Regions from separate parts of the Homo sapiens genome. Here all the other regions are linked to region 3. Evidence: promoter capture Hi-C in human tissues and cell types (Jung and others, 2019). All regions are on one chromosome and are shown on one strand. Each heading gives the region's core, a stretch centred on a gene start or on the middle of the fragment in contact. The rest is flanking DNA. Distances are from core to core; before and after follow the strand shown.

The links. The method cuts DNA at HindIII sites, captures the fragments that hold promoters and counts their contacts. A contact is called where the count stands out against the background at its distance.
Region 1: a contact is called between a fragment that was not itself captured here and the fragment with the promoter of AKR1A1 in region 3, in 2 of the 25 tissues and cell types used here (H1 embryonic stem cells and heart left ventricle).
Region 2: a contact is called between a fragment that was not itself captured here and the fragment with the promoter of AKR1A1 in region 3, in 1 of the 25 tissues and cell types used here (aorta).

Annotation. Positions count from the first base shown.
Region 1 is chr1:46,182,028-46,186,131 of GRCh38, forward strand. It overlaps TSPAN1 (tetraspanin 1), which reads left to right. Exons shown (of 9, transcript NM_005727.4): 4 at 2,164-2,370; 5 at 2,567-2,641; 6 at 2,758-2,856; 7 at 2,933-3,088; 8 at 3,198-3,281; 9 at 3,459-3,935. The coding sequence ends at 3,506. Among named protein-coding and RNA genes, the nearest start is that of P3R3URF-PIK3R3, 7.6 kb to the left of the region's middle. RefSeq lists an enhancer at 2,570-2,619. The HindIII fragment of the contact is 7,189 bases long and covers 1-4,104 here.
Region 2 is chr1:46,257,199-46,261,210 of GRCh38, forward strand. RAD54L (RAD54 like) reads left to right here. Exons shown (of 18, transcript NM_003579.4): 4 at 1,488-1,548; 5 at 2,766-2,901; 6 at 3,344-3,413; 7 at 3,529-3,817. Among named protein-coding and RNA genes, the nearest start is that of RAD54L, 11 kb to the left of the region's middle. The HindIII fragment of the contact is 4,363 bases long and covers 1-4,012 here.
Region 3 is chr1:45,548,731-45,552,644 of GRCh38, forward strand. AKR1A1 (aldo-keto reductase family 1 member A1) reads left to right here and starts at 2,096. Exons shown (of 9, transcript NM_153326.3): 1 at 2,096-2,425. RefSeq lists enhancers at 1,779-1,838, 1,889-2,118, 2,349-2,568. The HindIII fragment of the contact is 19,939 bases long and covers 1-3,914 here.

The DNA.
Region 1 (4,104 bases), core at 1,513-4,012, 630 kb after region 3:
ATGGCTGAGGGGTAGAAGAAGGGGCAAGGGAGACAGAGGTCTTGGAGATGACGCCCATATCTCTGGCATGAGCAACCCAGATGGCAGGGGGTGGGGCCTGGTTTGTGGGAAGGGGTGTCCCACTAGCAGATGTGTACCCAGTGGAGGTGCAGCTCAGATTGGAGCTGGCCATGGGTATTTGAAAATCATGTGCGCACAGGTAGCCACTGAAGCCATGGGAGTGGATGAGAACACTTGGAAAGTGAACTCTGGGAAACCCAATTTATTAGGGATAAGCAAAAAAAAAAAAAGCCACTGTGAAGGAGATGGAGAAGGAGCAGTGGGAGGGGGAGAGGAAAACAAGGAGAGTAGTACACTAACCACATTAGAGTAGGTTAGTGTAAGTGAAAGTGAGGAAGTGGGCCAGGTGCAGTAGCTCACAACTGTAATCCCAGCACTCTGGGAAGCTGAGGCGGGCAGATTAGTTGAGCTCAGGAGTTCGAGACCAGCCTGGCCAATATGGTGAAACCCCGTCTCTACTAAAAATACAAAAATTAGCTGGATGTGGTGGCGCATGCCTGTAATCCCAGCTACTTGGGAGGCTGAGGAAGGACAATCACTTGAACCCAGGAGGCGGAGGTTGCAGTGAGCCAAGATCACACCACTGCACTCCAGCCTGGGCGACAGAGTTTATGTATGTATTGATTAGTTTAGAAGCGTGGGTAGACTCTCTAGTTCTGATGTGGTCTGTGCCTTGGGCTTCCTTCGGCTGCAGGGAACTTGTGTTTTTGTTGTTGTTGTTGTTGTTGTTTGTTTCTTTGAGACAGGATCTTGCTTTGTCACCAAAGCTGGAGTGCAGTGGCATGATCATGGCTTACTGCAGCGTCAACCTCCTGGGCTCAAGGGATTCCCCTACCTCACTCAGCCTCCTGAGTATCTAGGACTACAGGAGTGTGCCACCATGCTCAGCTAATTAAAAAAAATTTTTTTTGTAGAGGCGGTCTCACTATATTGCCCAGGCTGGTCTCGAACTCCTGGACTTAAGTGATTCTCCCACCTCTGCCTCCCAAAGTGCGGGGATTACAGGCATGAGCCACTGTGCCAGTCCTGAACTAGTCTTTATCCCTGTATCTGGAGGAAGCAATAGGATTCCAGGGATTTGGACAGGAGAGGCTCTGCCCTGAGAGGGTTAAAGGCAAATCCGGTTTGATTTCTGGCCTCTGTTACCCAGACCTTGCCAGGCTGGGCAAAGCAGGATAGGGCAGACCTCCAGCTCCATGAAATTTGACCCTGCAGGCTAGAAGTCCAGCTTTCTGTCCTTGGGCAAACATGCCTGGAATCCAGCCACAATCTGCCACCTCACTTCCCGTTCTAGCCTCAGTTTTTATAGCTGGCAAGTGAGGACTAGTCACCAAGGTGGTGTCAGGCTGATTCATCCACTGAAGCCCTGGGCCGGGAGGCTTTCCTCTAAGATCTGTGGGAACTGCGCAGGGCCCTCCTCAATCTAGGCCTCAGAATTCCCCCTGAGGTTTGGAGTTGAGCTAGACAGCCTTTAAGAGAAGCTCTGGCTGTATTCCCACTGGTACCTCACTTTCCTCTTGTGAGGCAAGGAGGTCTTGTCTACATGAGGGGCGGGCCTGAAGTTGGATTCTGGAGGGGAGCCAAATGGGGCCTCAGGTGGGTGAACCTTCTCAACCTCCTCCCTCTCCAAGGTTGCCAGCAGGTGGAACCTCAGCCTCGCCTCCATTACTATGGTGACTATTGAGCCTGTTCTGCTACCACCCCCGTCTCCACCTATCAGAGGACAGAGGTGTTCTAGGCACCCATAGCCCAGAAAGGAAATAGGAGGCTGGGCCCTCACCTGCCTGTTTTCAATCCTAGCTATGTGGCAGGACCCTGGCAGCAGTGAGGGAAAGTCTTGCCCCTCTGCCCACCCTGAGGATATTTCTAGAACCCCTGATCTCCTTTATATCTGCCCAGGTGTGCAGCCTGGTCCTAGCTATGCATATCCCAGCTCCCATTTTTCTGGCTCTAGAGGATGTTTCCCTCCTTACAGGATGAGGTTTTAGACTCCCTAGCCAATAAAGAGGGAAGTTTCTCGGCTCCCATCCTTCTTACTCAGCTGTGTGGTAGTAAGCTACTTGCCAGCACTGTTTAAGGCCTGCCTGACCTCTCTCTCCCCAGCTGTGTGGTGCAGCCCTGTTGGCAGTGGGCATCTGGGTGTCAATCGATGGGGCATCCTTTCTGAAGATCTTCGGGCCACTGTCGTCCAGTGCCATGCAGTTTGTCAACGTGGGCTACTTCCTCATCGCAGCCGGCGTTGTGGTCTTTGCTCTTGGTTTCCTGGGCTGCTATGGTGCTAAGACTGAGAGCAAGTGTGCCCTCGTGACGGTGTGTGAAACCCAGCTCCACAGGCTGATGACCAAGAGTCCCCTCGCCCTTGACACCAGGCCCTGGGATTCCCAAACCCTGCTTTGGACCCCCCTAGGCTCAGGCTTCTGTCTCACTTTTCCGGGGGGGGGATTAGGGCAAGGAGGGCATGAGGGACTGTCTCTCCCTAAAACCCAGACCCCTGTTCCCCACTCAGTTCTTCTTCATCCTCCTCCTCATCTTCATTGCTGAGGTTGCAGCTGCTGTGGTCGCCTTGGTGTACACCACAATGGTGAGACACTGGGATGGAGGAAGGGAAGAAGATTGGGCAAAACCCTGGGAGTGGGCTGTGGCCTGTGAATGGCCACCTTCTGTACCAGCCCCTAAACACTGGCCTGCCTCACCCAGGCTGAGCACTTCCTGACGTTGCTGGTAGTGCCTGCCATCAAGAAAGATTATGGTTCCCAGGAAGACTTCACTCAAGTGTGGAACACCACCATGAAAGGGGTAAGGTTGGCTGGGGGAGGTTTTAGGGTGGAGAGAAAGAAGCAAGGCCCCACCTCCACCCTCATCTTGTCTCCAGCTCAAGTGCTGTGGCTTCACCAACTATACGGATTTTGAGGACTCACCCTACTTCAAAGAGAACAGTGCCTTTCCCCCATTCTGTTGCAATGACAACGTCACCAACACAGCCAATGAAACCTGCACCAAGCAAAAGGCTCACGACCAAAAAGTAGAGGTGTGGGCTGGCATGAGTGGGTGGGGACTGTTTTCATGGCCTCAGAGTGGCAAACGGGGATGGGAGTAGGGCAGCTGCCAACTATAAATGCTCTTTTCTCTTCCTGAAGGGTTGCTTCAATCAGCTTTTGTATGACATCCGAACTAATGCAGTCACCGTGGGTGGTGTGGCAGCTGGAATTGGGGGCCTCGAGGTAAGCAGATGAGGAGGCTGGGACTGGGACATGGGCATGAGACCAGGGCTGCTCAACCCATCTGAGGCCTCTCTGGAGGAAACAGACTTCTAACTGGGCCTCAGGTAGGGTGTCTGTGGGACAGGCTTCAGGATCCCTATCATGTTCCCTCATCTCTCCCTGTTCCTCCCTCTCCAGCTGGCTGCCATGATTGTGTCCATGTATCTGTACTGCAATCTACAATAAGTCCACTTCTGCCTCTGCCACTACTGCTGCCACATGGGAACTGTGAAGAGGCACCCTGGCAAGCAGCAGTGATTGGGGGAGGGGACAGGATCTAACAATGTCACTTGGGCCAGAATGGACCTGCCCTTTCTGCTCCAGACTTGGGGCTAGATAGGGACCACTCCTTTTAGGCGATGCCTGACTTTCCTTCCATTGGTGGGTGGATGGGTGGGGGGCATTCCAGAGCCTCTAAGGTAGCCAGTTCTGTTGCCCATTCCCCCAGTCTATTAAACCCTTGATATGCCCCCTAGGCCTAGTGGTGATCCCAGTGCTCTACTGGGGGATGAGAGAAAGGCATTTTATAGCCTGGGCATAAGTGAAATCAGCAGAGCCTCTGGGTGGATGTGTAGAAGGCACTTCAAAATGCATAAACCTGTTACAATGTTGCCAGTTGGACTCTTCATGTATCCTTGGGGAGAGGGGCCTAAACTGGCCACGGATTCCTGTGGGGCTGCCAACTCAGAAGGCCCTGGAAAGGAGGGAAGTAGGGTGGGGTTGGGGGTCAGAAGTGGTTATTTCTCCCCTTCATTTGGGTTCCAGGCCTTGGAGGGAAACTAAG
Region 2 (4,012 bases), core at 810-3,309, 710 kb after region 3:
GACATTGATGATGTGTGAAGAAATGAGTCAGAAAACAAAGGTAAAAATATCACGGCAGGCTTGCTTTTTTTCCTATTAGACTATGTTTTTTGCTAGAAGGGACATTTTTTCATTACTGCTTTTTCCACTAATATATTCCCATTAAAACTACCTTCAGGGTCTCTGCTCTTTATTTCTCTGCTCTCTTGGCTTCCACCTCTGGTTTTGTTGAGGTTCACAGGCTATCACAGTTCCGCAAAGGGCTCAGGTGTGTGTGGACCAGAACTTCCATGGGAGCTGTCAGAGTTAGCTCAGTGTTAATTTTTCTGCCTTCTCTGCCCCTGCCCCAGCCCCATAGCCCATGGAATAATGCTGGTTCAAGGCAGAAGTGCTTGTACAGAGGCTTCTTGCCTTTAGGTGGAGGAGTCACCAGTGCTACCTCTCTAGGACCCACATATGTCTACCTGCTGTCACCCTTGTCCCACTTGCTTTTTCTTAGTGTTGGGCTTAGCTTCTCTCTCATGTCCCTTTCTCATGTTCCTTCTCTTGTGCTTTACATGGCAGGAAGCTGCTGGGTCTGGGCTGATCTGCATGGCTGTACTCAGAGTGGGTGAGAGGCCACGTTGCCTACTGAGTACAAGTAAGGACCCTAGAACCAGGAAAGTCCTGCATTTGTAATGGCTTTGTGACTTGAGAAAGTGACTTAATCACTCTGAGCCTCAGTTTGCTCATTTGTAAAATGGAAACACCAGTAATATATGGACCTCATACAGCTGTTAGGATTAAATGGTAACATGAATGCAAGAGGCTTAGCTCTGTGTCTAGCATACATTGGTAGCCATCATTATTTTTATTTATATTTTTAAATATATATTTTTAAAATAGAGATGGGGTCTTGCTATATTGCCCAGGCTGGTCTCGAACTCCCAGACCTAAGTGATCCTCCTGCCTTGGCCTCCCAAAGTGTTAGGATTACAGGTGTGAGCCACCATGCCCGGCCTGGTGTTGTTAATATTATTTTATTAATACGATGGCTCCCATTTCTCCATCACTACTCTTTGATGAGCTGTTTAGTTCCCAAGGAGGCTGATGTGAGTATTAGATATATTAGACATAACTGATGTAGCCAAAAAAAAAAAAAAAAGAATTGTGAGGTGTGCTTGGGAAGGTGTAACCCTATATGACAGTGGTTAAACCCAGACATTAGAATTATCCATTATTACTCAGGTTGGCTAAGTCTGTGGTATTTGCTTTCCAAGGTGCTATACCCTAGGGAAGAGCTAGGTATGCTCACTGGCATGGTTTTTAATGAGTGAATGGTTTCCTGGGTTCTAAGCCTCGTGGTTGACTGAGGCTGGGCCCTTCTGCTATCCCTGGATATTTGTAGAACCTTACATAAAGCCTCGAAGATGGATGCTGTTGTACAAAACCTAATGTGAAGCATATCATGATATTGTCCCATAACATCTCCAGTCAGTCCTGAATCCTTGTTTCTCCTTTCTTTTTAGGAAGCATTTATTCGAAGCATTTTGTCAAAGCCTTTCAAAGTCCCCATTCCAAATTATCAAGGTAAAATGGAGGTTTTTCTGTTTTTGAAATCAGTCATATGTACGTGTGCCTGAATAAATTAAAAACCTGCTTTTGTAAATACAAGCTTAGCTGGGAATTGAAGGTGCCAGTCCAGCGGTGGCTGTGTTTGGGGTGACCCTCCTGAGGCCTGCATGAAAACTGTGTTAGCCTCAGTAAGGGCTGCCAAGACTAACTGCCCCTCATCTTCTTGGTAGAGGTGTCCCGGTGCTCAGAAAGCTCCTGGTGGGCCAAGATGGCTGATGGACCTGGGCTTCATTCAATCCAAGTGCATTCAGTAGCATCCCTTTTATGAGGCTGACTGTGTGGGAGGCCTGGATTCTATAAGGTTTTTCCCTGTCTTATGTAGGGTACAGCATTATGCTAAAACTGGGGCTTGGAGGAATAGGGAGGCCAGCTTTCTCTCTCTCTCTTTTTTTTTTTTTAATTTAATAGAGATAGGATTTCACTATGTTGGCCAGGCTGATCTCGAACTCCTGGGCTCAAGCGATCCTCCCACCTCGACCTCTCAAAAAGTGTTGGGACTACAGGCTTGAGATACTACGCTTGGCTGTGGCCAGCTCTCAGGAGCTCTCAGAAAGCTCCATGAAAGTGCCCTTTAGAATTTCAGGCCTTCCCAGGATTGTCTTGAGTTGAAATGAACCAGATCTGGCACCTCAGAAGTTTGTAATTGAATGGGAGAAATAAAACGGGAAAAGCTCTGATTCAAAGCAGAAAAATTCTGGGGGCTGGGCATCGTGGCTCACGCCTGTAATACCAGCACTTTGGGAGGCCAAGGCGGGCAGATCACCAGAGGTCAGGAGTTCAAGACCAGCCTGGACAACATGGTGAAACCCTGTCTCTACTAAAAAAAATACAAAAATTAGCTGGGTGTGGTGGTGGGAGCCTATAATCCCAGCTTCTTGGGAGGCTGAGGCAGGAGAATTGCTTGAACCTGGGAGGCAGAGGTTGCAGTGAGCCGAGATTGTGCCACTGCACTCCAGCCTGGGCAACAAAGTGAGACTCCATCTCAAAAAAAAAAAAAAGCTGAATGGGATAATGGTCATATAGAGATGCCCAAACTGAGTTTGGAGGCATTCTCAGAGAGAGAGGGTCATATGGGAGCTCGGGAAAGGTTATGTGAAGGACAAGTATTTGAGCTGGGCTTGCTGGAGCTCCTAAACATAGATTCAGGTGACGGAATGATTATTGGTTTGTAGGTCCTCTGGGCTCTCGAGCATTGGGCCTGAAAAGGGCTGGGGTCCGCCGGGCCCTCCATGACCCCCTGGAAAAAGATGCCTTGGTTCTGTATGAGCCTCCCCCGCTGAGCGCTCATGACCAGCTGAAGCTTGACAAGTATGTGCACTGGTATTTCATAAGCAGTTTTGGTTCTCTGTATATGCACGCATACTTGGGAGGGCAGAGGGTATTTTGGTGTGATTTCTTTTTAGGATTGACATATGTTTTCAGAGAGTAGATGATTGGGGAAGGAGACTGCCTGGGGAAGAGCCTGTGGTCATGTCCAGTGAGTGGGCATTCCTCATCCCCTCCTGCCTTCCCAGGATGCTCACTCAGGAGGAGGAGTGATTGAGGTGATGACACAGGGAACCCATCCCTCTCTGAGCTAACTTTCTAACTCCTAAAGTAGGAACTTGCTATGGTTTTACGATTTATCAGCCAAGAAGGTCTTCTTTTAGGCAGCTGCCTCTGTTGCCTCCGGATCAGCAGGACACAGCTTCCTGAGGGTGCTCCCTTGCCCATGTCTGAGCACGCTGTTTTCTTTGCTGTGTTTTCTCAGGGAGAAACTCCCTGTCCATGTGGTTGTTGACCCTATTCTCAGTAAGGTTTTGCGGCCTCATCAGAGAGAGGTAAATGAGGGTGAGGGGAACGAGGTATGGGCTATGGGCTGAGCCTGGGAGACTACCATCCCTGGGACAGCAGCAGCGTAGGTGCCAAAGTGGACTGAAGGCTGTTATTCTCTAGGGAGTGAAATTCCTGTGGGAGTGTGTCACCAGTCGGCGCATCCCTGGCAGCCATGGCTGCATCATGGCTGATGAGATGGGCCTAGGAAAGACGCTGCAGTGCATCACATTGATGTGGACACTTTTACGCCAGAGTCCAGAGTGCAAGCCAGAAATTGACAAGGCAGTGGTGGTGTCGCCTTCCAGCCTGGTGAAGAACTGGTACAATGAGGTTGGGAAATGGCTCGGAGGGAGGATCCAACCTCTGGCCATCGATGGAGGATCTAAGGATGAAATAGACCAAAAGCTGGGTACGGAGCCCTAACAAAGATGGCTGCACTCTCCTGCACAGCCTGCTGCTTTCTTACGTGTATGCTCATTTATGGCCAGGGTGGAGGGCAATGCAGGGGTAGAAGAAAAGAGAATTTCCATTGAAAATAGTTGAAGTGGAGTCAGTTGTTTCCAGGCTAAATTAAAGAACTGTCTAATTGTTTTTTTTGTTTTTT
Region 3 (3,914 bases), core at 846-3,345:
TTTTAGTAGAGATGGGGGTTCTCCATGTTGGTCAGGCTGGTCTCGAACTCCTCACCTCAGGTGATCTGCCTACCTCGGCCTCCCAAAGTGCTGGGATTACAGGCGTGAGCCACCATGCCTGGCCTATTTTATTTTTTTTTGAATACAGGCTGGAGTGCAGTGGCGCGATCTCAGCTCACTGCAACCTCCGCCTCCCTGGTTCAAGTGATTCTGTTGCCTCAGGCTCCCAAGTAGCTGGGATTACAGGCTCGCATCAATACATCCAGCTAATTTTTTTTTTTTTTTTTTTTTTTTTTTTTTTTTGAGGGGCAGTCTCGCTTTGTCAAGAGGCTAGAGTGCAGTGGCTCGATCTCGGCTCACTGAAACCTCCGCCTCCCGGGTTCAAGCGATTCTCCTGCCTCAGCGTCCTGAGTATCTGGGACTACAGGTGCGCGCCACGACGCCTAGCTGAATTTTTTTTTTTTTTTTTTTTGAGATGGAGTTTCACTCTTGTTGCCCAGGCTGGAGCGCAATGGCGCAATCTCAGCTCACCACAACCTCCGCCTCCCAGGTTCAAGCAATTCTCCTGCCTCAGCCTCCCGAGTAGCTGGGATTACAGGCATGTGCCACCACGCCCGGCTAATTTTGTATTTTTAATAGAGACGGGGATTCTCCATGTTGGTCAGGCTGGTCTCTAACTCCTGACCTCAGGTGATCCGCCTGCCTCGGCCTCCCAGAGTGCTGGAATTACAGGCGTGAGCCACCGCACCCGGCCAAGTCTGATTGTTTTTATGAGGATGGCCTGATACATTAGACATTTGGTCCACCAGGACATCACTTATGTTGGGGAGACAGTGGGGGATAACGGGGGTGGGGAAATGGGAAGAGTTGCTCTCAGGGAGTAAAGGTGTGGGGAAAAGCAGAGCCAAACCGAGATAACCCTGTGTCTTGCCCATCCCTGCCAAGGAAAACACATACATGCAAGACACCTCTCCACTCAAACAGCACAGACTATTTCAAATCGCAGATGTGTCATTTAATTAATACCTGTGTGACTTTGGGAAAATTATAAATAGCCTTAACCTTGCTGAGTCTGTCCAATCTGTAAAATGGATTATGAATACTTTCCTCACAGGCTTATGGTGTGCTGGTAATATCTTCCTCTGGATGGCAGTTACATTGCAAAAAATAATTTAAAAAAAAGAACTGTATACATTTAAGATTTATACATTTTCTTTCTTCCTGGATGTAGAATAGGAAAAAAAGAAAAAGAAAAAAAAAAAGACTGGTGTATTTTCTGTATATATGCTATACTACGATTTTTAAAAAGGCTTGTACGAAATAAAAGAATATTCCTTTTCGGCCAGGCGCAGTGGCTCACTCCTGTAATCCCAGCACTTTGGGAGTCCAGGGCGGGTGGATCACGAGGTCAGGAGTTCAAGACCAGCCTGGCCAAGATGGCGAAACCCCGTCTCTACTAAAAAATACAAAAAAATTAGCCAGGCGTGGTATCGGGCGCCTGTAATCCCAGCTACTCGGGAGGCTGAGGCAGAGAATTGCTTGAACCAGGGAGGCGGAGGTTGCAGTGAGCCAAGATCGCGCCACTGCACTCCAGCCTGGGCGAGAGCGAGATTCCGTCTCAAAAAAAAAAAAAAAAAAGGAATATTCCTTTTCCAGGATTATTATGAAGATTCAATAAAACCATGTTTATTAAGTGTTAAGCACAGTGCCTGGCACATAACGTGCTGGGCGGGGTCTATGGTCCAGACAGGGGGACCAGGCACTTTCCAGCGCCTGGATCTGCAGACGCGAGGTCTTCTGTATTCTGGCCAATCTTGGTGTTGCAGCTGCTCTCTGGGCCTCAGTTTGCTTGAACTAAATGTAACGGGGCCAACTTAGGTGAACTTTGGGAATCCAGCCAACCTGACTTTAGGGAGAGTATGGAGCCACGGATGGCATTGTGAATCCGGAGGGCCGACACCAGAAGAACCTGCAACGTGGCATCTGCTACCTTACTTCCCCCGGAAAAGCGCCTGCGGCGGCGCCTAGGCGCGCGGTGCAATGTGGGCCAGCAAAAGGCGAGGCTGGCCCCGCCCCTTGCACCGCCCACGTGGCCAGCGCCACCTGCCTCATTGTGCCCAGGAGTTCTCCAAACCCGCGCTGCGGAGTGAGTGACCAAGTTCCGGCCAGTTCGACCTCGAGGATCCAGAGGTGGAGACGGTACTACCTCCCAGCTCTGTTTTCCATCCCCTTCAGGTCCTTCCTCGGGAGGCGGCGAAGGCGGTCCACCCTGCGCGTGATCCTTTATGCCCGGCCCCTGCCCCTCCCTCCGGGTGGAACTTCCCCCTCACCGCCAGACTTAAGCTGAGGATCGTTGGATCTCTGGCGGGGTGCAGAACTGAGCCCAGGCCACAGTACCCTATTCACGCTCTGTGCTTGTGCCAAGGTGAGTTTCTCTTGCTGCTGGCCTATCTTTCTCCCGGAGGAGATGGCCTCGATTCTTTACTACTGAAATGTAAGCCCCTGGGGTTGAGTGGAGAGCGCAGAGCACTGGAGGGGACGAGACTTGGTTTCGGATTTGAGCTCTTCTTTTTCTCTGTATGATCTCTTGCTAACTTCCCAGTTTCTCTGAACCTGTTTCCTCAGCAATAAAATGAGGTCCTACATTAGAACTGTAGCAAGAATTGAGATAAAGCTTTGAAGGCGCACAGCGCATACTAGGTGATCTGCAAGTTTTAATTGCCATCTTTTTGTTTGCTCACCTATGTGCTTTTTCCAGCTGCTCCGGCTTTCTTATGCAGGTGCAGGGATAGTTCTCAGAAGTGGGGAGAAGTGGGGATAATTCTCTTACTTAGACACCTGCTTTGGGTCTGAGAAAGTCTGACATGTTATTCTGTTGCCCCAGAACTCTGTTAAAGTAAGACACAGATCTGAACCTTCACTGGATGAGGCTACTGTTAATTAACTCTTCCCCTTCAGATCGTTCATACTCAGGGCTGCAGGCCTGTTACTTTTCCAAGATCTGTTTCCTTATCTTTAATACAGGAGCAATCTCAGTATGATTCTATCTGGTCCACTGGGATTTTTTGCCGAGTATAGTAAAGTGCTTTGATATTCTCCAAGAGGATTCTTTTCAGGTTTTCCAACAGGTAAAGGAAGAAGGTGACAGAGGCAGCGACTTCCTCAAATGTCCTTCCAGCTGGCCAAACTCAACCTGTCAAGATCTCTCCCCCATAAGCTGTGTGTGTGTGGTGTGTGTATTGTGTACATTGTATGTATGTATGTATGTATGTATGTATGTATGTATGTATGGGACAGGTACTCTAGGAGTGAGGGGTTCAGGCAGATGACAGGCTCAGACCTCAAGGAGTAGCCAGGTTTGTGGGGGAAATTTATATATAAACAGAAAAATGTAGTGATGTGCACATGCTATCAGTACATGGAAGTAGCCATCCATTTATTTATTTATTTATTTTCTTTTTAGAGATGGATGGGGGTCTCTCGGTCTTTTGCCCATGCTGGAGTGTAGTGGTGGAATCCTTGCTCAGTGCAGCCTCAAACTTCTGGGCTCAAATAATCCTGCCACCTCAGCCTTTGGACTATAAACTACATGCCACTGTGCCCAGTTAATCTTTAAAATAAAAAAAAAAAAATTCCCCCTAGCAAGCAGACTCAGAAAGAAAAAAACAAATTTTTGTAGAGACAGTGTTTCCTTTTGTTGCCCAGGTTTCAAGTGATCCTCCCGCCTCAGCCTGCCCAGGTGCTGAGATTACATGTATGAGCCACTGCACCTGGAAAGGAGCCAGAAATGTGAAGTGCTAGCTGAAGGATGAGCAGCAGCTAGCCAGGCAAAGGTAGGGTTTGGGGAAGGAAAGTGCACACACCTAGAGTCAGGTAAGTGATGTGACCCTGTTGAGTGTTCAAAGTCTGGAATA